Linked DNA regions of Homo sapiens: all the other regions are linked to region 3. Evidence: promoter capture Hi-C in 16 types of primary human blood cells and fetal thymus (Javierre and others, 2016). All regions are on one chromosome and are shown on one strand. Each heading gives the region's core, a stretch centred on a gene start or on the middle of the fragment in contact. The rest is flanking DNA. Distances are from core to core; before and after follow the strand shown. Region 1 has its middle 24 kb from the start of LINC01832. Region 2 has its middle 79 kb from the start of LINC01832. Region 3 holds the start of NXPH2 (neurexophilin 2). Region 4 has its middle 5.6 kb from the start of LINC01832. Region 5 has its middle 14 kb from the start of LINC01832. Region 6 overlaps LOC107985948 (a long non-coding RNA gene).

Region 1 (3,306 bases), core at 264-2,763, 650 kb before region 3:
TAGTGATAACTAGATAAGAAATTCTGAATGATGGAAAGGAAGACTAAGGAGTTGTTGTTCATTAACTTTTACTCTTAAAGGAAGCAGAGTTTGGATATCTGAGTTTGAAAAACACAGAAATATTTATAGTCATTTTTTAAGGGAACTGGTAAGGAGATGTTTCTTAGCTGCAAACTATAGACTGTATCTAGTTAATTTTGGTAGAGGTAAATAAAATTTATTACGGATACTGAGTAGCTGACAGTATTATCAGGAGGTCCAAAGAGCCACAGAGAGTCATGGGACGATACTCAATGCATGAAAATGACCCACGAAAATACCACTGCTGTTAATGTGTGTCACCTATATCTCAGTTCATTGAAATATCAAAGCTTAAGATCGGACATTAAATGCCTCTGAGGAGCCAAATGCTTGGAAGCACTTGGAACCACTAATTGCTGAAAGATAGACTCAATGAGTGTCTATGACATCATATTGCTCCCTTCTGTAGGAAAGACTGCTGTTTGTACCCCAACATATATTCCCTCCATCTCTCATTGTAATATATTCTCTCCATCTGTCATGTTGGTCACATGGCCAGCCGCTCAGAGTAAAAACTACATTTCCTAGCCCCCACTTAATCAAATTGTGGCCAGTTTAGGCCAGTGGAAAATAGAAGTTATTTTATGTTAGCTTTTAGTATAGCGAAGATGAGTCACACTCCCTGGGGTTGTGAACTAATCACTTGAAAGGAGTCTTGTCCCTATGGATTTCTGAGACCAAAGCATGATATCAGTCTAGGATGATAGATCTTTACTCTTCTATAAGAGCAAGTAAACTTCTATCTTATTTTCCTAACTCAAAAAAATCTTTTCATGGGTGTGTCTGATGGGTGGCCCAGATCCCCTTCCTGCACCCAGACAGCCAGGGAGAGTGAGGGAATGAATTCACTTCCCACCCTGGCAGCCGGGTTTATAATGTTGAGAATGTCTCCCAGATAGAAGAGCTATTCAAAAGATGTTAGGTAACGACTAACAAAACAGTTGTTTGTTTATAACAGGGGTGGTGGTCGGGGGGACGGGGGGAGGAAAGGAGAAGGGAGGGAGAGAGGAAGAAGAAAATAATAATGAGCAGTAAAAGGGCACAAAAGAGCATGAATTAATCCAGGTCTGATTTTATGGTATTTTTTTTTAATCTTAATACTCTGGAATTGGGAACAGAAACTAGTCTTTACCTAGTAAAAATGTTATTGAATCACCAAACTGTAAAATTCAGATTTGATATAGAAACCGAGGTGGAGAGAAATGAAAGGCAGGACAACATTCCTTCCCTTGTGCTTCTTCAGCCCCAGTAGGAGGGTAGGTACGAGAAGGAGTATTGAGGACTGAGTGATGTGAGAAGCAGGCAGGGGTTTGAAGTCAGATGTGGATATGACCCTAACTCCGCCCAACATACTAACTCTAAAAAGTTACGCAAGTTAATTGCTCCTTTGAGCTCATTTCTTCATTAGTAAGATGGAAATAATTGCAGTACAAGCCAATAAAAGTATAGTACCAGGGACAGAATTTGCTCAGCTCTCAGCTCAGTGCTTACTGCATTGTGTAAACCCTCAAATTCTTAGTAAACACTTTTTAATAAAGCTCAAGTGCTTCTCTTACTCTTCGACTCTCATCTCATGCCATAGGTTTAGGCAAACAAAAATATCTCGTCCTACCTGGAATCGGAAACCACCCTGCATAATTCAAGCCATTCTCAGAAATAGCATTTGGACAAAGGGAAGAAAAGTCATGACTCACAATTAGAGGATGGAATCCTCAGGAAAAACCAACATTAGCATCTAAACAAGAAAATTAGCTTATTGACATTGAAAAATGTTGCTACATTTTCAATTTCATTAAAGCCTCCAATAGACAAACACATTTATTTCTGTGCTATGTGTCTGATAGCAGGAAGGGCCAGAAACATCAGTCTACAAGCTCTGGGACTCTAGACTGTGACAGTGCTGATGAAATATATGTTTGCTGAGAAGACGTACGATCTCGACTATCTGTGACCATTGAAATATTAAGGAAATTACTTATAAAACAGATAAAAATCCATTAAGAGAGCATAGCCTAGAAACCGCAGAGGAGGAAGGGAAGGACTAATTTCCAATCCTTCTTGAAAATAAAAAAAAGAATTTTTTCCCCTTGTTATTATCCTCATGAAATTAAATTTCATTGTGCAGTTCTCATCTTCATAATTACTAGGTTGCTTTGAGAATTAGATATAAAAAGCCACCTCATATACAGGTAGCAGCTGATTTTTCTAAATATTACATTTTAAAAATGATAAAAGAGGAAGGAATAACATTTCAAATGATCATTATAATCACCATGCTTGTTCTGTGTCAGCCCACCCACCTGACTCAATGCATTCATTTACAGGCATTGAGGCAGGACACCTACAAGCATCCCCGCCCCCAACCTTAAAACCATCTGGATCCATACAGGAATAAGATCCACATGAATACGTACTTGACTTTTAGAAGTCCAGAGGCTGGGAGCCTGGAAACCTGTAGACAGGTCTTGAGAGGTGTAGTACGCTGAATAATTGCCCAAAGATGTCCATACCCTAATCACCTGGAACCCATGAGTATGTTGCCTTACGTGGCAAAAGGGATTTGGCAGATGTGAGGAAGCTTATGGACTTTGAGATGGGAAATTGTCCTGGGTTAGCCAGGTAGGTCCAATCTAATCACATGCGTGCTTAAAAGCAAAGGCCCTTTCCTGCCTCTAGTTACTCAGAGAAAGGTGATAATGATGATGGAAGAGAACCAAAGAGATGGCAATATGAGAAGGATTCAACCCGAAGTTGGTGTTGAAGGCAGAAGGGACATGAGCATAGGAATGCAGGCAGCCTCTAGAAAAAATGAAGATATTCTTTCCTAGAGACTGCGAAATTAATGTGGCCTTGCCTACACTTTGATTTTAACCGAGTGGGACCTGTGTAAGACTTCTGACCTAAAGAACTGTAAGATAATAAATTTATGTTGTTTCTGTCACTAAGGTTGTGGTAACTTGTTACAGCAACATAGAAAACCAGTATAGTGATTCTCACAACCAATGCTTGTGAGAATCCATTAAATAACTTGATGTTTTTTCCCTAATTCTTCCTTCATTTGTCTAATCTTATTACACTCTGCTTTTCCTGTCTATCTGCTCCGCTTACCAGTATGCACACTGGGCTTGGAGCTCTACTCCTGTCCCAGCTCTTTAGACCAGGTCCTGGCAATATACCTGCCTCTTACTACCTTTTATTTGGGAACTAGATTCTCTCAGTGAAAGC
Region 2 (3,366 bases), core at 284-2,783, 600 kb before region 3:
ATAGCAATCCAAAGGGATTCAGAGGTAATTTAGAATTTGCATTAGTGTAATCCTTACTGCTTTCCATAACTTTGATTGGCCCTGCTGACAATTCACAGATATGCCAATCTATTTGCCTAACTAGCTGTCTTCTGCTTGCCACTCTAGATTCACTCTTTGCCTTTCTTCCCCCTTCTCTGCACTCCTGGAAGCTGACCTGTGTCTCCTACTTCTGTGGGTTCTCAAGCCCCCCAGTTTCCTATTGGGCTGGCCAACAGGATGCAAGGGGAAGAAATCAGAGAACAGGAGGAAATGAGGTCAAGACATCTATTCACCCCATAACCTTCCTTTTGGGTCATCATATGTTGGCTGCGTGCCTCCATTAAAGGTCAAAGCTGTTGACAGGTGACTCTCTTCATATAGCCTCTATCTGGATTCCAATAACTTCTCAGTCCCATTGTTTTTCAAACCTGGGTGTGATAATGGCTTCCCAGTGTTTCTGTGCCCTATGGAACTCCACTATACTCTCTTGGTTTCCTAACCACATCTTCGTAAATAATCTCTCCCTAATTATTCCCAGTTTGAATGTGTCACCTTTTTCCCACCAGGATCTTCACTAAGATATTCACAAACGGGCAGATTTCCTCATACCAGCCTCATAGGTATGATAATAGGTTTGCCAGCAGGGAAAGGGACAGAAGTGCATGCTTCTGTACATGTAAATGTACAGAAAATGTAGACCAAGACAGCTATCATTAATTCCAGTGTATTTCAAGACACCACATGTAATGCATCAGGTACGCACATGCACACACACTCACACATACATGCACACTCAGAATCATGCTGGGAATGGAAAAAGTGTTGTATAAGAAGATGTCAAGATCAGCAGCTCTCAACTTTTTGCTGCTAAGAGATAGTCGAGTCTCCCATGAGTAACTGGCTTTCACTATGTCCATGATTTCCAAAAGTGGATTAGTAGTGTTTTAGAATTAATGGATCTTAAAGAGCGATTTTCAGAATTTTCCAGGAGATTCTCACATGGCTCTTATTGCAGGAACAGAATAAAAGAAAATGAATAACAGTACAAATATTTAGGGCTTTGGGGTCTTACATAACTGAACATAAATCCTAAATTAGCCACCCTTTTTAGCACTGTTCAGAGTGTTTTTCATCTGTAAAGTTAGAATATTGAAGCATTGTTATAAGAATAAAGAGATTTATGGGCATTATTTATTTTACACATATGTATTAACATAATGCATTTAAAATGGCATTTCCTAAATGCTTGCTGTATCACTGGAAGGCAGCTATCAACATTACCAGGATGTAGAAGCAGTGTATATGCAGAAGTGGAGGGTAGGGGGCTCCCTTTCATTCCATTCCAAGAAGCCTGGACTATGGGGAAATTTGGAGTGAGAGTATGAAAATGAAAACACAAAGGAGAAGGTCTGACATGCAGCAACAGAAGTGATCCTTCCAGACTTTGAAAATCTGTTATGAGGGACTTCTGATCCATTATCATTTTCTGCCTTCCTTAGATCAGTATTCCCTTTAGACAGTTCTTTTCAGTCCCCACTATTACTCAACAGCTCATGGTGATGCCCCTTATCCTGTGTAACCTTTGTGGCCTGTTATTGAGTGCCACACAGAAAAAGCAAGGAAAGACCTTGCTGCTAACAGTGTCAATAGATTGAGCAGTCCTGTAACCCAGAGCTAAATCTCAGAAGAGGAAATGAGATGCTCAGATGATTTCTGCTGAGAAACTGAACTCAAACACTTCCCACATTCCTGTATCAAATGCAATCTATAGCTCTATTGCTCAAAAAAATTGACTTTGTGGAATTGACAAATATATAATTACATAAAAACAGAAAAGCCTTCCAGCTTCAGTATTCTACAACTCTGTTTAACTAGTTCTTACCCTTCATGGGGCACAAAACGTTTAGAAATAAAGCCTTCCAGCTTCAGTATTCTACAACTCTGTTTAACTAGTTCTTACCCTTCATAGGGCACAAAACGTTTAGAAATAAAGCCTTCCAGCTTCAGTATTCTACAACTCTGTTTAACTAGTTCTTACCCTTCATAGGGCACAAAACGTTTAGAAATATCTAGCATCAAACCGACCCTAACTTGCAGCCCATCTCCTAACAGGCTTAAAGTACCTGAATATTTTCAATCTGTTAGCACATCAATGAAAAAAATTAATTGCTAAGGGCACTTCACTAGATACCTTTAATGTAGCAAATAAACCTCAGGCCTAGCCTTTGCTACTCATATCTAATTGAGGCATGACCTGCCATGTGTCAAGACACAGTTAGCAATGCACATGTGGTTACACACATCCAGATGAGGGAAGTAGCAGAGGGAAAAGTGGAGGCAGGTACTGTCCAGATACTAACTCAAAGGAAAAACCTACTCTTGACAGTCACTTTTGACATATTACTTTGTTAAACCCTCATAACAATTTTGTGGGGCAGACATTATCATCTCTGCTTTACAGAAGTAAACCGAGGTTAAATAGAGGTAGCATATAACAAACCGGAATTCAATCCCAGATATCTTAGATTGTAAAGCCTTTGTAATTTTAATCAGGTCATACTACATGTTCCCTTCCTAAGAGAACAGTTCTTAAAGGAGAGAATCAAGGCCCTAAAGAATAAAGACAGTTTGCAGATAAATAAAGCATAGCTGTATAAAGTGGAAAGAAGAGCTAACAAGTAGAAAATAGTCCCCCTCATGTCAAGGTCCAACACATCTCAAGAAAGGAACTGTGCATCCTTCTATTTTCAAGTTCAGAATTAAGCAAGCACCAGAGTATATATCAGCATATACTCAGTATATATCAGCCAGAGACTGGCTGATTCAGAGTATTCTAAGAGACAGCCTGATGACAAACACACACCTGTTACAAAGAATGTCATCAGCAAAGAAAAAACCTGCAGGTTGGTTTAACATGAAGGTGGGATTCTATTAGTGACCAAACAATGAGAATTCCTACAGAGATCCTGGAACAAAAGAGACTTCCAACATTTACCTTGCATCTCAGATTTCTTTTTTCAGAGAGCTCCAGGAAAAAAAAAATGTTTAAATTAAGTTTGTTGCAGCTGCTCTGTCAGGAACTTACCAAGCGCTACAGCCATCGGAGCAATTAAAAAAAATTGCACAGAAGGTAATTAAAAGCCTTACTGGTTCTTGCGATTAGACTGACATTTTAAATGCGTCTGGATGTTTTATTGTGCCAATAACCTATTTCCCTCGTCTCCAAGAGAAATACAACTGACATCAGTAATTTACCCAAATACTCTACAGGTAACGTGTGCCAAATACAAACCTGCACTAAATTAGGGCCAGAACTCTCCTCTGTGCATTCTGCCTGATACATCT
Region 3 (3,307 bases), core at 691-3,190:
GTGTGGAAAAAAAAAATATCTAACATTTCCAATATAGTAGCTGGGAGAAGAACTTTTCCCCGACACGTGCCCAAATATATTTTCTCATCTTTAAGAGCCTATCACACTGCTTACGGAGCAGATACACAGTTCATATTTATTAAATGCAAAATTAATGAACTAAGATTCGTGAAGATATTCTGAAGACCCCACATAAACACCTGATTTCCCCAGGCTTTTCCTTACACACACCATACAAATGCTGCTTTGTTAGATCACCTTTTATTAGAATCCAGACTAAAAAATTTTAAAGCAAGGGATACTAAAGATTAATGTGGCATATATTTTGGATTCATAATGCCTAAGATGTAAAATGTATTTTAACATGGAGTATTGTAGATAGCCAGTATGTGATGGCTCATTCAAGGATATTTGGGCATATCATTGCATTTTCTTCTTGATGCCATTGAAGAGTTTCTGAGTTAACGCTGTGCAGGTGAAGCTAATCTCCACCGTAACAAGCATGGACCACGGGCATCTCAGAGGTCTCTCCACCTTTTAGAGTTCCTTCCACCCTCAGAACTTGCAAAGTGCCTCTGCCTTAACAATATCATACATATCATAAACTTTCAAAGTTACTTGATTTTCCCCCTAATAGGAAAAGAAAGAGACAAAGAGAACGAGAGAGAGAGCGAGCGAGAGAGAAGAGACTGTCATCTTCTAAGTGCTTGGGCAAAGTCTTAAGTATGAGGACCAAAGAAACTATGGCATCAGGAGAAAGCCCTCTTAATAGCACCCTAACAAGGCAAGAGCTAAGTGACCAGAAGAAATCCATCACAGATGCTGACCCAGCCAAAGCACTCCCCTTCTGTAATTTTACTTTAAAAGTTTCTTCTTGAAGATCTTACTTTGGTTTTCCCTCAACTATAATTAGCCATGCATATAGAACATAGGCGTATATCAGGAGGAGGAGAGCGTGGCGCCTCGCGGGAAGAGAGAAGAGAGTGACAACGCGAACCCCAAACCACATTTTAATACGTTTCTTATTCCTCAGCGCCTCCGAGCCACCCAGACCAGGCGGGCGGTCTCCCTGAAAAGACAGCTTCGAGATGCCCGAGAGGGGGCTCCTGCGCGGAGCTGGGCATGAAAGTTATATCTTGTGTCCCCAGCTGGCAGAAAGCCCCATCCCAGTCCCTAGCGCCAGACGGAAAACGAAGAGAAATCCAAGCTGTCCCCCAAATCCGTATTTTGCCTAAGTTTTCTCCCAGCAAGGCGCCACTACCTGGCTCTGAGAACGAGGATGCATGCACTATGCTGTGCTTTGGGAGAAGTGTCTGTGTGCATCTGGGCAAAACACCACGTGAAAAATAAACACCACCAAGCCTCTCAAACTGTGAACAGGAGGAAGGTCTTTCTGCCCCTTCTCATCCTATCAATTTACTTTCCTTCCTCTCCTTGACCGCTTATCAATAAACCGCTTCCTTCTCCCGGACCTACTTCCCGGCCACCTTCTGCCTACTTTACCCCAGCGCTCAAGTCCCAACCCGTGCTAAGCCCCTGAGTCGCCTGTAGATCCCGTCTATTCCGTTCTTCAATTCTTCCCTTTCGACCTCTAAGGCAACCCAAAACTCCTTGCCCTCCGCGCGCCCCCAACCCCACTTCCCAAGCAGGCCCAGGCTGGGCTCCAAGTCAGCCGCCTGCGCGGTTTTCCCGCCGAAACGCGTCCCCGGCGTGTGGGACGGCGCGCGGGCCGGGCACTCACCAGCTGCAGCAAGCCAGGGACCACCACGAGGGGCAGCGGCCGCAGGCGCATGGTGCCGGCTGGCGCGGCTTTTCACGAGCTGCGCGCCCTCGCCTGCCTCTCGCGCATCTCCACTTCGCGGGGCAGGACTGAGGACGCCAGGGACACAGCGCGGCGCTTCCCTCCCGGAATCCGAGCGCTGCGCCGTGCCGCGCAGCTCTGGCCGGGTGGGCGGGCAGGGAAGGGGGAGGGTGGGCGGACCGGAGGTGCCTCTCCCGGCCCCCCGCGCGCCCCTCCTCGGAGGGGGCCGGCAAAGAGCCTGCGGGGCAGCTCGAGCTCCGGCACGCGGCGGGGGGCTTCAGTCGCGCCTTGGACTCTCCCGCTTGGCCGGGCTTGGGGTGAGCGCGTGGGGCGCCTGCGGGAGGGAGGCGGCGGCTCGGGCGCTTGGGTGATGGGTTCAGTGCGAGGCTGCCCTCCAGATCCGATCCCGCCGGGCGGATGCCTGGCCGAGCTGAGCACGCCTGGCCAGCCGGTGCCCCAGAGCCCCGAGAGGCCGGGTGCCTCCTCCCACCCCCGCCCAGCAGAAGGCCGGTCCGAGAGGCTCCACTGTGCCAAGCGCCCTGCCAACTGACTGGCTCTCGCTTTGGCTGGGGAGATTGGGGATGAGGGGAAGAAAAGGTTCTCCCTGGGTGGCTGCAAGAAAGAGTGCGCCCGCCTGGAGAGCGCCCAGAGAGTTTAGGAGGGGAAGGCGATTGCAGAGTCCTGGGGCGGGGCGTGGGGAGCTGCGAACGGAAAAGGCTGGGGCGGGGAGGTGAGGCTGGAGCCCAGGACGCCCTGGGAGAGTGCCCTACTCTGCCGCAGCGCCAAGCTCGCAGAGCCGCGGGTAAGGGGTACAAAGTGCGCCTGGTGCGGCTGGAAGGATTTCTGGGGTTGGGGAGTAATGGGGACCTCGAGGGACCAGGAGCAGAACTGTGAGAAACGGAGCTAGGTGATGTCTGGTTTACTCCGGTTTGGGGATGGTATAGACAGCTAGGTGTCCTGAAGACAGACAAAGTTGCTCCCAGACCTTCTGCCCGGGCTTTGGAGAAGCAGAATAAAGGCAGGATACCCCACCACAGCCTCCGACTTCAGAAATATTGGAGAGGGGTATCTTTGCGGACGGGCGAAGGTGCAAACCTGATGCCTGTGAGCCTCGACCTCCGTGTTAACAACTCGCCATTGGAGAGATCCTTAACCTTTTACTATCTTTGTGCTGGACACTCGAGTGGAAAAATCAAAGGCAATGGGGCTCACAGACCTGCACTGTTTTTACGGTAGATCAGAGTTTGGGCGTCATTCGTCACTCCTTTATTGAACAGGTGGGAAACCTAAGGTCCAGAGAGATACATTCACTTCTCCAAGGATGAGACTTTAGGCAGTTGCTCCGACAGAATACCCAAGGCGAGAATGCTTCTTACATCTAGAAACGCAAAGCTCTTAGAGAAGAAAACCATGTTGAAGCAAGGGAGTAGAATTGCAATTGATTTCTAGGCTTTAAAAAATAAACCCAACAAAAAGCACAGATTAAGTTGTAATTTTTGGACAAAA
Region 4 (3,057 bases), core at 120-2,619, 670 kb before region 3:
AGCAAGTATGTCTACAATTCCAGATCTCATTTCATGCATAGTTGGCAGTGCATAAGAAACTTTATCAGATTCCAAAATATATTTTTAAAAAGTCCAAGAGGCTGGGGTCCTTTGTGATTGTTGTGGATCCACATCAGGAAGAGAAACCCTTTAAGGAGAAGAATATGATATTTTCATTTGCATAAAAACAATAAAACTCTTTCAGCAGCAATTTCCCCTATATAAAAAGTGAGAACACAGCACCTTGGTGACACAGACATCTGTTACTTAAACAGATGCCACCTTCTAAACTCACTCAAGCAACCCTCTGCTCAACCAGAGACCCCTAAACCAAAATTCAATGCGTGGATAGAACAATATGTGCAAAGGGTGCTTTCAGTAATGATGGGTTTTACCTCCCAGCATCATTATGAATTTGCTTGACTTTTTTGTGTTGTTACTTTAGCAAAATCTCCTCCATCATTTCTCTCAGTAATGTCTTTTTTCTAACTTAACCTCCACAATCTGCAAAATCAAATGGTTCCTTCTAAGATTCATTGCTGATTAGCACTAGCCCTTCAAAGGCTAAACCATGGCTTTTGTTTGTTTCTTTCTTTTTGCAGATGCACTTTAATGACTTCACAGGACAAGGCTCTAACACTATCTAGGAGAGAAATGAAAGTTAGTTCCTTTTTTTTCTTTTCCAGTAGCACAAAGGGTCCCTGCTGATGTTTTCCAGTGAAGCAATACTCCCCTAGCCTGAGACTGATAAGTGCCTTCAGAAGTTAGGCTTACACTTCTAAATCAGCAGTTCATGAAAGGCATTACGAAAAACTATTATACTGCTATAATGCTATAATGGATGACAGCACAGTTGTATATGTTACACCTTGAAGTAAGCAGTAGGATTTTCCATCACTTGATAACCTTGAAACTGCTAAGGTATCAAATTGCTATCATGAATATTGTGCAGGAGAAGAAATAACTCAGGAAGCTGCCTTTGTGAATAATAATCAGAAAACTGCAACATTTTTACTGAGAAAATGGATTTGAGGCACTGGTGTATTGACAAGCTTTCTAACAGGAAACTAAGGTAGACATTACAAGTACATTTACATTGAGCTATGCATCAATCCATCATTCAGCATTCGATTTGTAAGTTCTAATCAGTTAAAAATATTATTAGCAAAGAATTATGTGGTATGTTAAAATTTCCAGGATAAAGGGTAAGGAGAGCCCACATGCTATTTTGTAGCTGAAAACAATAAATAAAAATGTTTGTTTGATATTTCAACTTCTCAATGTACTCTGAAATCTAACTCATTCCAGCAGAATATAGAGATGAGGTTTGGGAAGTGAGGATTTGTTTAATAGGCATTTAAATCAATTGCAGCATGAAGACATGGTAGGAACAGAAATAGTAAATGTTTATTACACCTCTCTTTTTTTTTCTAAAATACATATGTTTAATTTTGCCAAATCCTGGCTTTGTTCATGAGCAGAGCACCTAGTATTGGTCCGTAGCATTTTCAGACAACAAAGTCTACCGAGAACCCTCGACAGCTATGTGAAAACTCAATGTCTGGAGTGATTCATCATTATGTCAGACTGGCCAGCACTTTGTCACAGTGACTGACAATGGGAGAAACTTGGAAATAATACAAAGATTCTCTGTTCACTGATAGTGTCTGAAGTGTGATTAGAGAAGAAAGCTTTGAGACTGTGAGGAGAATCTTAATTTTCCCCCAAAATTAATTTTGATATTTTACCCTTCGTTGGAAAAATTCCACCTAACTTTTTCATTGTCTTACTCAAAACTGGCCACTTTCATTTTAAATAGTGTCTGGAGCTTGCTTATTGAACTTCACTGCACATTCAACAGCTTAGTAGGTGGGGTGAACAATTTTTCAATAGTGTAAGACCAGCTACACTGGCTTTATACTGGGCTACTCTATCCAGTTGAGAAAGGTAAACGCCCTCCAGTTAATGGTTGATAGTGGTGTCAATACAACCTAAATTAACTCATGCCTTACCCTTTTCTTGGAATCTGGAATCATTTTATACTATTCAATATAGCAAAATTCTAAAAGGGTAATGATATTAATTCCTTACTTCAGGTAAACTATTGCTAGACAAAGTAATGTAATGCATGGGCATTACATTTAGAGGTGCTGGGGAGCAAAGGTAATGGCTTTCATTTATTTCCCATCCCCTCTATGGGAAATAAATGAAATAACATCTTTTATGGATAGTAGATCAATGATTCCACCTTCTTATTAAAAAATTTAAAAAGCTAAAATGGATCCTATCCAGAAAAATGTGATTACAAGAGGAGTAAATTATTAGAGGGGATAATAATAAAAACTAGCATTTGTTGACATTGTGTGCCAGAAATTACATAGATACCATCGCATATATTCCTAAGAAAATTTGAGATAAGAATTACCATCACCATTGTATAGTTTAGAAAATGGAGAATCAGAGAAGAATAAGTATACAATTGGTGAATGGTAGAACTCGAATTTATGTCCAAATATGCCTGCTTCCAAAGACAATAACCATCAGAGTAAACAGAAAATTTAAAGTGAGATACATGAAGGATAAAGTTAAGGAATATAAAAAGATATGCAGTCAAATATCTATCAAAGTGATGGTCTCAAGATGCACATCACTTCCCTTCATCACTCTCCCATCTCCCTCAAAATCTCATTGCTTTACGTTAAAGCAGAATGTCCTCACCATGACCAAAGTAGCGATGTGTGATCCAGGTCTGACCTGCCTCCCAAACCTCATTTTCCAGCACCTTGTCCTTCTCTCTATTGCACCCTCACTGGCTTACTGGTGGTGCTTTTTATCTGTCATGCCCTCTCCTGACTTTTGCTGTTTCTAGTTACTAAAATTCTCTTCTCTATCCTCTTACCTGGTTAAATTCTTTCCATCCTCCACAGCTCAGTTAAAGAACACCATCAGGAGGTTGGATTCCCCTTATCATATGAACCACATACCTTTCTTTTATTGCCTTTGTCAGAATTGTAACTTACATTTGTTAGAATGATTATTTCATTTATACCTGCATAA
Region 5 (3,212 bases), core at 230-2,729, 690 kb before region 3:
AGACATATCTCTACATTTGCCAAGGACTGGGTACATTTGCTGGTAAGCCCACTTCTTCGCAACCATTTCAGTTTCTGTCACTTGGCTGATACTCCGTAAAAGTTCCTGCAGGCAGAGCTTTTCTGAAAACTTCTCTTCGGCAAACTCTATACTGTCAAAAGTGAATCTCCTTCACTGGACTGTAAGCTATTTCCCCAGGACCTTGTACAGTGCCTGGCACATAGTAGGAAGAAATCATTTAGATGAAGCACAATTTGAACATAGTTCTCCTCACATTGAATTTAGCAACCAGAATCTTTAGATAAAGAAAAGTGTTCACTTCTTAATTTTATTTTGTATATCACTATAATCTTTTTAGTATCTTTAGTAGCTGAAACAACCACTCGGGTGGTTTTAGATGACTTTGTGACCAAATATTTGTAACATCAACTCACTTATTTTTAAAATGATATTACTACCCCTCATTAGATCTCTGTTATTTCTTTGTTTATAAAATGAGGGTGTGGATCAAATGATTTATCAGATCCTTTGCATCTTAAATTCTCTATAATTCAAATAGCACCCACTGGTTCCTCTTATCTCTAATAATTCTGGGGTAACCTGGCACACTTTTCTTATGCAGTTTCCCTTAGAGCAATGGACTAGCAACATCAACAACAACCAGAAACTTGTAAGAAGCACAAATTCTTAGAATTCACTCCATCTCCACAGTCTATTCTAAGGAGTGTTAAGTTTAAGAACTGGCCCCTGCTTCAAGAGATGACATCATTCCTCTCCCTTCAGTCTGAGTCCTTTTTTCAAACATCAACACTGGCTCCAACACTGCAGCAGCTGCCAGCAAACACCTCCCTGTGTTCTTCAGAGAGGAGAGCATCTGGAGAGTTCTTTACATTCTACTTGTCCTGCCTTTATGACCCAACACAATGTCTTTGTCAGCCTCATTAAAGAATTATAAGGTTAATTTTACTTCCCCCCAAATACATAACCTCTTTCCAAAATGGAGTGTCAGTTGATAAGCAAAGGCTGCCTGGCTAAGGAAAAAATGGAGAGAGGGTGTTTGTTGTATGCGTGTGTAGTGAAGGATCAAATCAGAGACTAAAAGTCAAGCAAAGCTACTGTGCAGGCATCACATTCATGAAGAAGCTTAAACTTAGAACTTTGACATAATTTTTAAATCACTTTGTATAAACTCACAGAAGTACACTGTCAAAATTGAAAGATGGCCATCATTTCTCTTGTGTCTCATACTGGATCACACTGCCTGTAGTGTATTGTGAATTATTTAAAAAATTAAAATTTACCTCATAGACAACATAATTGTATTGCAGTGGGTTTTCATAAAGGTGTTTAATCTGTTAGTCTATTAAATTCTTGGGGCCCATTTTTGCAATTATTCACTGTAATTGACCAGGATCCTCAATATATTGACTTGCCCTGTCCACTCTGAGGGGCTCTGGGGAGATACTTAGGATGCTCTATGTGTAAGGGCCCAACATTAGGCCCCAGATGGATACAATTCAACCTATGCTAATAACTTCCCCCATAAAACTAAACTCCATGAAGCATTCAAGGCACTTCCTAATTTTGTGTCTTGTTTAATTCTCTTCAAAAGTCAACAAACATTCCCCAAATTCTCACTGTTGCCAGACCGTGTATTAATGCTGAGGAAACAAAAATGAAAATGACAGACTGTATTCTCAAAATGCTCACAGACTGCCAGGGAAAAAGACTTGACCAATAGGCACAATTTATTATAATAAATACCGTAAGGGTAGTATGTACACAATACAGAAATTCACTTTAATTAGGGAAGAGAAAGCTTGCTGAAAAAGACATGCCCCAAGTAATGGTTCTGGCACATTGCCATTACACTTTGCAGCACAGGGACAGTTCTGGCAGAAGCCAAGGTGTCTGAAATCAGAGCTATTGCAAGGAGCCACAACAAGTAGCTGGGTTTTGCTGCAGGCTAAAGGGAGTGAAGGGGGAGTGGGAGCAGATGAGCCCACCTCTGCCTCATGGGTTTCTTAAATCTCTAAACTGCTCATTCACTCCAACACCTATTCCACATTTGTTGACAGCTTTATGGCCAAGAAAATCCAGGATACTGAACACAGGGACTTGTTAAGCTCCACCCTGCAGGTCTGCCGGGGCACCCAGAAGCTGGCACCCAGGCTACTCAACAGCCTGGAGGCTGACACCAAGCTCCGAGTTCTCCTGCCTGGAAGGTGTAGAAGACCGAAAAATATTAAAAAAAAAAAAAAAAAAAAAGTTCTGCGTTAGTGCAAACAGATCCGTATATCAGCAGAGAGTTATCAAGGTTAATGAGAAAAATTATCTCATCGGAACAACCCCCAGTTGGAGGCACCGGCGCCGAGCTGCAGCCTCTCTAATCTGGGAGAGCTGGGTCTCCCGTGCAAAGCGATCCATCAAAGTCACTTGCTGGCCTTCCCGCCTTCCCCAGGAACATGGCCCCCTTCCTCTGGCTGGGAAGGAAAGCAGGCAGCAGTGAGGGGAAGGGTCCCTGCAGTGGGCAGCAGAGCACAAGGGGACACCAGGTACACAGAGAAGCAGAAAAGGAAACAGGGGCCGTGCCCCAAACCTCCTGGCTGTGAAGAAGCCAAGAACTGAGGATGCCCAAGCAGGTGCCAGAGGAAGGAGAAAAATGTGTGCCTTACACACACACACCCGCACTCTACAGCACACCACACATACACACAACATGGGCATATACTGTACACTCACCCACCCACCTGTGCGCACACACACACACCCGCACTCTACAGCACACCACACATACACACAACATGGGCATATACTGTACACTCACCCACCCACCTGTGCACACACACACACACACACTCTATAGCACACCACACATACACACAACATGGGTATATACTGTACACTCACCCACCTACCTGCGCGCACACACACACACTCTATAGCACACCACCCATATACACAACATGGGTATATACTGTACACCCACACAAAGGTGCACACAGTACACACATATGCACACACAGTCATGCTCTGCGTCCTGCTGTCATTTGTTTTTAATCTCTCGTCCTTTACGGAAAGTAACTCTTTAGCCAGACACATTTTCATAAACACTTGTCCTTATGGTTCCTTTAGCAAGAGCATGGAATCTCCACCTGCTGCCCATCCTGCGGGAAGAGATTTTTTTTGTTTGGTGGTGTTGGTTTAGTTTT
Region 6 (3,443 bases), core at 54-2,553, 750 kb before region 3:
TTCATAATTCTTCCTTGATTCCACCCCATGTTTTCTCCACACCACTCCATTAATGTTGCTCTTGGCAGCCCCATCAGTCTGCTCTTGGCAGACCTCAGATCCAGTGGTAAGTCCTTGGTGCTCAACTTATTCCATCTACTAGCAGTATTTTACATGTTCTATCTTGAAACACATTCTTCAATTGACTTTCAGGACACCCCCACCCCTGATGTTTTGCCTCACACCTCATTTGCCACTACTTTTTAAACTTCTTTTTGAGTTTTTCCTCATCTCCCTGACCTCTTAATGGTGGAGTACCAAGGACTTCATTTTGGAATTTTTATTTTCCTGTTTATGCTCACTTTCATTCTCTTGGGGCTTTACATACTGCTTAAGTACTGTTGATATGCTGACAACTCTAGAATCTCTCTCTCTCTCTCTCTCTGTCTATGAATTCTAGATTCATAGAAGCAACTACCTATGTCACATCCCCTGTTAAATGTCTAATAGGCTTACCAAGTTTAATGTGTCTAAATATTAAGCTTCTGATCTTCCTGACCCCAACCCCAAGCAAATATCTTCTATCTCATCTTTGCCCCATTTCAAATAATGCCATTCTTCCAGAAACTCTGGCCAGAAACCTTGAATTCTTCCTGGAGTCCTTTCTATTTCTCACATCCTATCCCAAAATGATGCTAAATCTTTTCCACCTCTTTTCCTGAATGTCCTTTACCCAGAAAACCCATGACTCTCTTCTTCACCTCCATTGGATTTTTACTTAAATGCCACTCTGAGGCCTTCCCTGACCTTGTATTTAAAATTTCAACCCCCTATTCTCAACACGTACTATCCACTTCCCTGCATTATTTTTCTCTGTTGCATATATCCCCACTAAAAAAAATGTTATTTATTTATTTTGTTTATTGTCTGTTTGTCTCTCCCATCCTTCCACTGCAATATTATACATTCTTTGAAGACAGGACATTTTTTTTATTTGCTTACTGCTCTATCCCCAGTACCTAAAACAACACAACACATGGTAGGAACTCACTAATAGTTATAGAATGTGTTAGGAATACCTCTTTCAAGTAACCATTTTGAGGCTTGCATCCCCATCACCCATCCTGAATATCACAAGGTTTCTTGTCTACTCCATGAGCGATAGGACCCCTTTGCTTTCCTGCTGAGAGTGAAGCAGTTCTCAGAGGGGAAGCCCAGTAATGTACTCTTGCATGAAAGAAAGCCTGTGGTTTTGATGTGTTAAGGCCTTGGGTATGATGGTTTGCTAGCATTAAGGTGGTGGTGAATAATTCCCTTCCTTCCTGCAATGCAGCATTTTGGGAGATAACAACATCTTATTTTCAGTCTGAATCATTTCTCATGACCTGTTCATTTTTAGCCGCATGCTCATTCTTCTGTATACCATAGTCATAGGTTTTTGTTCATCTCTGCACTGCCCTGCCCCACCCCACCCACCTTTTCTAAAGTCAGCCTCGATCAGCCAGGGTCCCACTAGAAGTACAGAACCCACTCTGAGGAGTTAAAACAAACACAGAGAATTGTTTCCACAGCTATATAGAATGCAGGGAGGATGCTGAGAAAGCATCCAGTACAGAGGGAGGCAAACCAGAAATGAGTGATGGTAGGAAGCTCCTACCCTAAGTCTGAAGGGACCAGAAGGGAGTGTTGTTACTGGAGCACTGGGGTGACAGTCACCTGGTGAAAAATGGAATCAGGGCAGTTCATCACAGGGTTTTCTGGAGACCCAGAGGAGAAACAGTGGCTCCTGGGAATCACACCCTAAATGCAGAAGAGGGAATTTCTCCCTCCTTCCCACCCACATCCAATCTTCCATTAGTACCTTTCTTGGCATAGGATCCTGGAAAACACAGTCTGCAGGGGTCAGCTAGCCTTCTCCCTCCACTGCTTCCCCACCCTTTGTGATACATAGCAGAGCAGGGGGAAATTTGAGAAACAGATCTGAAGGTAAACAGCTCCATGAACAGGCATACAAGTTGGGATTTTGGTCATTTCTAGCAGTCAGAAGTTAATTACCCCAGAAGATCTGAAGATGCCTATAAGAATCTTCAAGATATGAAGTACAACCAAGCTTACACTTAACAGCTTGGGGTAAGGTGGTGAGGTTTTGTTGTGGAGTGCTGACAGAAACTTAGGATAGTGCAGAAGGGGAGGGAGAGGAGGGCCTCCAGCTTTGAGGCTGTTTCAGTTCCCACTAGGGTCATCCCTCTCTCACTAACAGACCCATTCAGTGGGAGGTTGTGTCTGGGACTTGGGCACCAACACTCAGTTTCCCACTCACTTCCAGTGTTCACAGTTGTTGGCAAACTTCCTTCGCATTAGTGGGGCTCCGATTTTCAAGAATCCAGAAATTCTCAAAAGGGCTATTAAGCTATTAACCATAGTTCTAAAGGATCATATTGTGAAAGCTATAATTGCCTACAGTAGGTCCCAAATAGAAAAGTAAATATGAAACCTTCTTTTACAAAAAGTTAAATGATGGGAAAGAACTACTTTTGATTAGTTCTTTGATTAACCTTTATCTCTTGACTCATTATCTGAGTAGAATCACAAACTGAATCGCAAACTGAGTAGAATCACATGACTTTCTGGATGGAACTGTTCATATATTGTCATCTACCTGCAAAAATAGCAGGTATACCTATTACATCTCCCACCTAATAACAGATTATTTTACAGCTACTTTTTATTTAGTTAAATCTCAGCATTGACAGCTGGGTGCAGCCAGGAGATGAACACAAGCTTAGGGGAATCCTAAAGAAGTTGATCATGCCCTACTTGTTCAATGCCGTTTTACCAGCCCAAGGCAGATCCAAGTTGGGGGAGATAAAAAGCTTTAAATAGTATAAGTCAAAGATATTAAAAGTGTGGATGTTTCACTGGATTGGAATTTTAATATCTGAGAGAAGCTGAAGAAGCAATAGGATTACCCAGTGTGGAGGATAATGAGTTAAGAGATCAAGGTTAATAGAAAATTGTTTTCTGCTTTCATACACCAAATCCAGCTCATTCAATAGTTAGGTTTTTCAGAGAACAAATAACCTTGTGGATTGTGATTACCGTTGTGAACAAGGTGAGATCAGAAGAGGTCTCTTTCAGGCAATTGTCCTTGAACCTGAGCCCTGAGTGATGAAAACAAACAAAATTAAACAGAGACTTAGAAAAAACATTCTCAGCTGAACACAGTGGCTCATGCCTGCAATCTCAGTGCTTTGGGAGGCCAAGGTGGGTGGATCACCTGAGGTCAGCAGTTTGAGACCAGCCTGGCCAACATAGTGAAACCTTATCTCTACTAAAAACACCAAAATCAGCTGGGCGTGGTGGCATGCACTTGTAATTCCAGCTACTTGAGAGGCTGAGGCAGGAGAATCACTTAAACCTGGGAGGCAGGAGTTGCAATGAGCTGAGATCGCACCACTGCACTC

What was found. The method cuts DNA at HindIII sites, captures the fragments that hold promoters and counts their contacts. A CHiCAGO score of 5 or more calls a contact.
Region 1: a contact is called between a fragment that was not itself captured here and the fragment with the promoter of NXPH2 in region 3, in 1 of 17 cell types (M1 macrophages). The highest score is 5.9, in M1 macrophages.
Region 2: a contact is called between a fragment that was not itself captured here and the fragment with the promoter of NXPH2 in region 3, in 1 of 17 cell types (M0 macrophages). The highest score is 6.9, in M0 macrophages.
Region 4: a contact is called between a fragment that was not itself captured here and the fragment with the promoter of NXPH2 in region 3, in 3 of 17 cell types (monocytes, M0 macrophages and M2 macrophages). The highest score is 6.4, in monocytes.
Region 5: a fragment that was not itself captured here is called in contact with the fragment with the promoter of NXPH2 in region 3 in 2 of 17 cell types (M2 macrophages and M0 macrophages); the score reaches 7.7 in M2 macrophages.
Region 6: a fragment that was not itself captured here is called in contact with the fragment with the promoter of NXPH2 in region 3 in 1 of 17 cell types (non-activated CD4 T cells); the score reaches 5.5 in non-activated CD4 T cells.

The regions. Positions count from the first base shown.
Region 1 is chr2:138,124,133-138,127,438 of GRCh38, forward strand. No RefSeq gene overlaps it. Among named protein-coding and RNA genes, the nearest start is that of LINC01832, 24 kb to the left of the region's middle. The HindIII fragment of the contact is 2,288 bases long and covers 370-2,657 here.
Region 2 is chr2:138,179,551-138,182,916 of GRCh38, forward strand. No RefSeq gene overlaps it. Among named protein-coding and RNA genes, the nearest start is that of LINC01832, 79 kb to the left of the region's middle. The HindIII fragment of the contact is 4,520 bases long and covers 1-3,366 here.
Region 3 is chr2:138,778,450-138,781,756 of GRCh38, forward strand. NXPH2 (neurexophilin 2) reads right to left here and starts at 1,941. Exons shown (of 2, transcript NM_007226.3): 1 at 1,742-1,941. The coding sequence starts at 1,792. The HindIII fragment of the contact is 12,898 bases long and covers 1-3,307 here.
Region 4 is chr2:138,105,913-138,108,969 of GRCh38, forward strand. No RefSeq gene overlaps it. Among named protein-coding and RNA genes, the nearest start is that of LINC01832, 5.6 kb to the left of the region's middle. The HindIII fragment of the contact is 639 bases long and covers 1,051-1,689 here.
Region 5 is chr2:138,085,958-138,089,169 of GRCh38, forward strand. No RefSeq gene overlaps it. Among named protein-coding and RNA genes, the nearest start is that of LINC01832, 14 kb to the right of the region's middle. The HindIII fragment of the contact is 676 bases long and covers 1,142-1,817 here.
Region 6 is chr2:138,029,357-138,032,799 of GRCh38, forward strand. It overlaps LOC107985948 (a long non-coding RNA gene), which reads right to left. Exons shown (of 3, transcript XR_001739719.2): 2 at 3,079-3,140. Among named protein-coding and RNA genes, the nearest start is that of HNMT, 67 kb to the left of the region's middle. The HindIII fragment of the contact is 1,568 bases long and covers 520-2,087 here.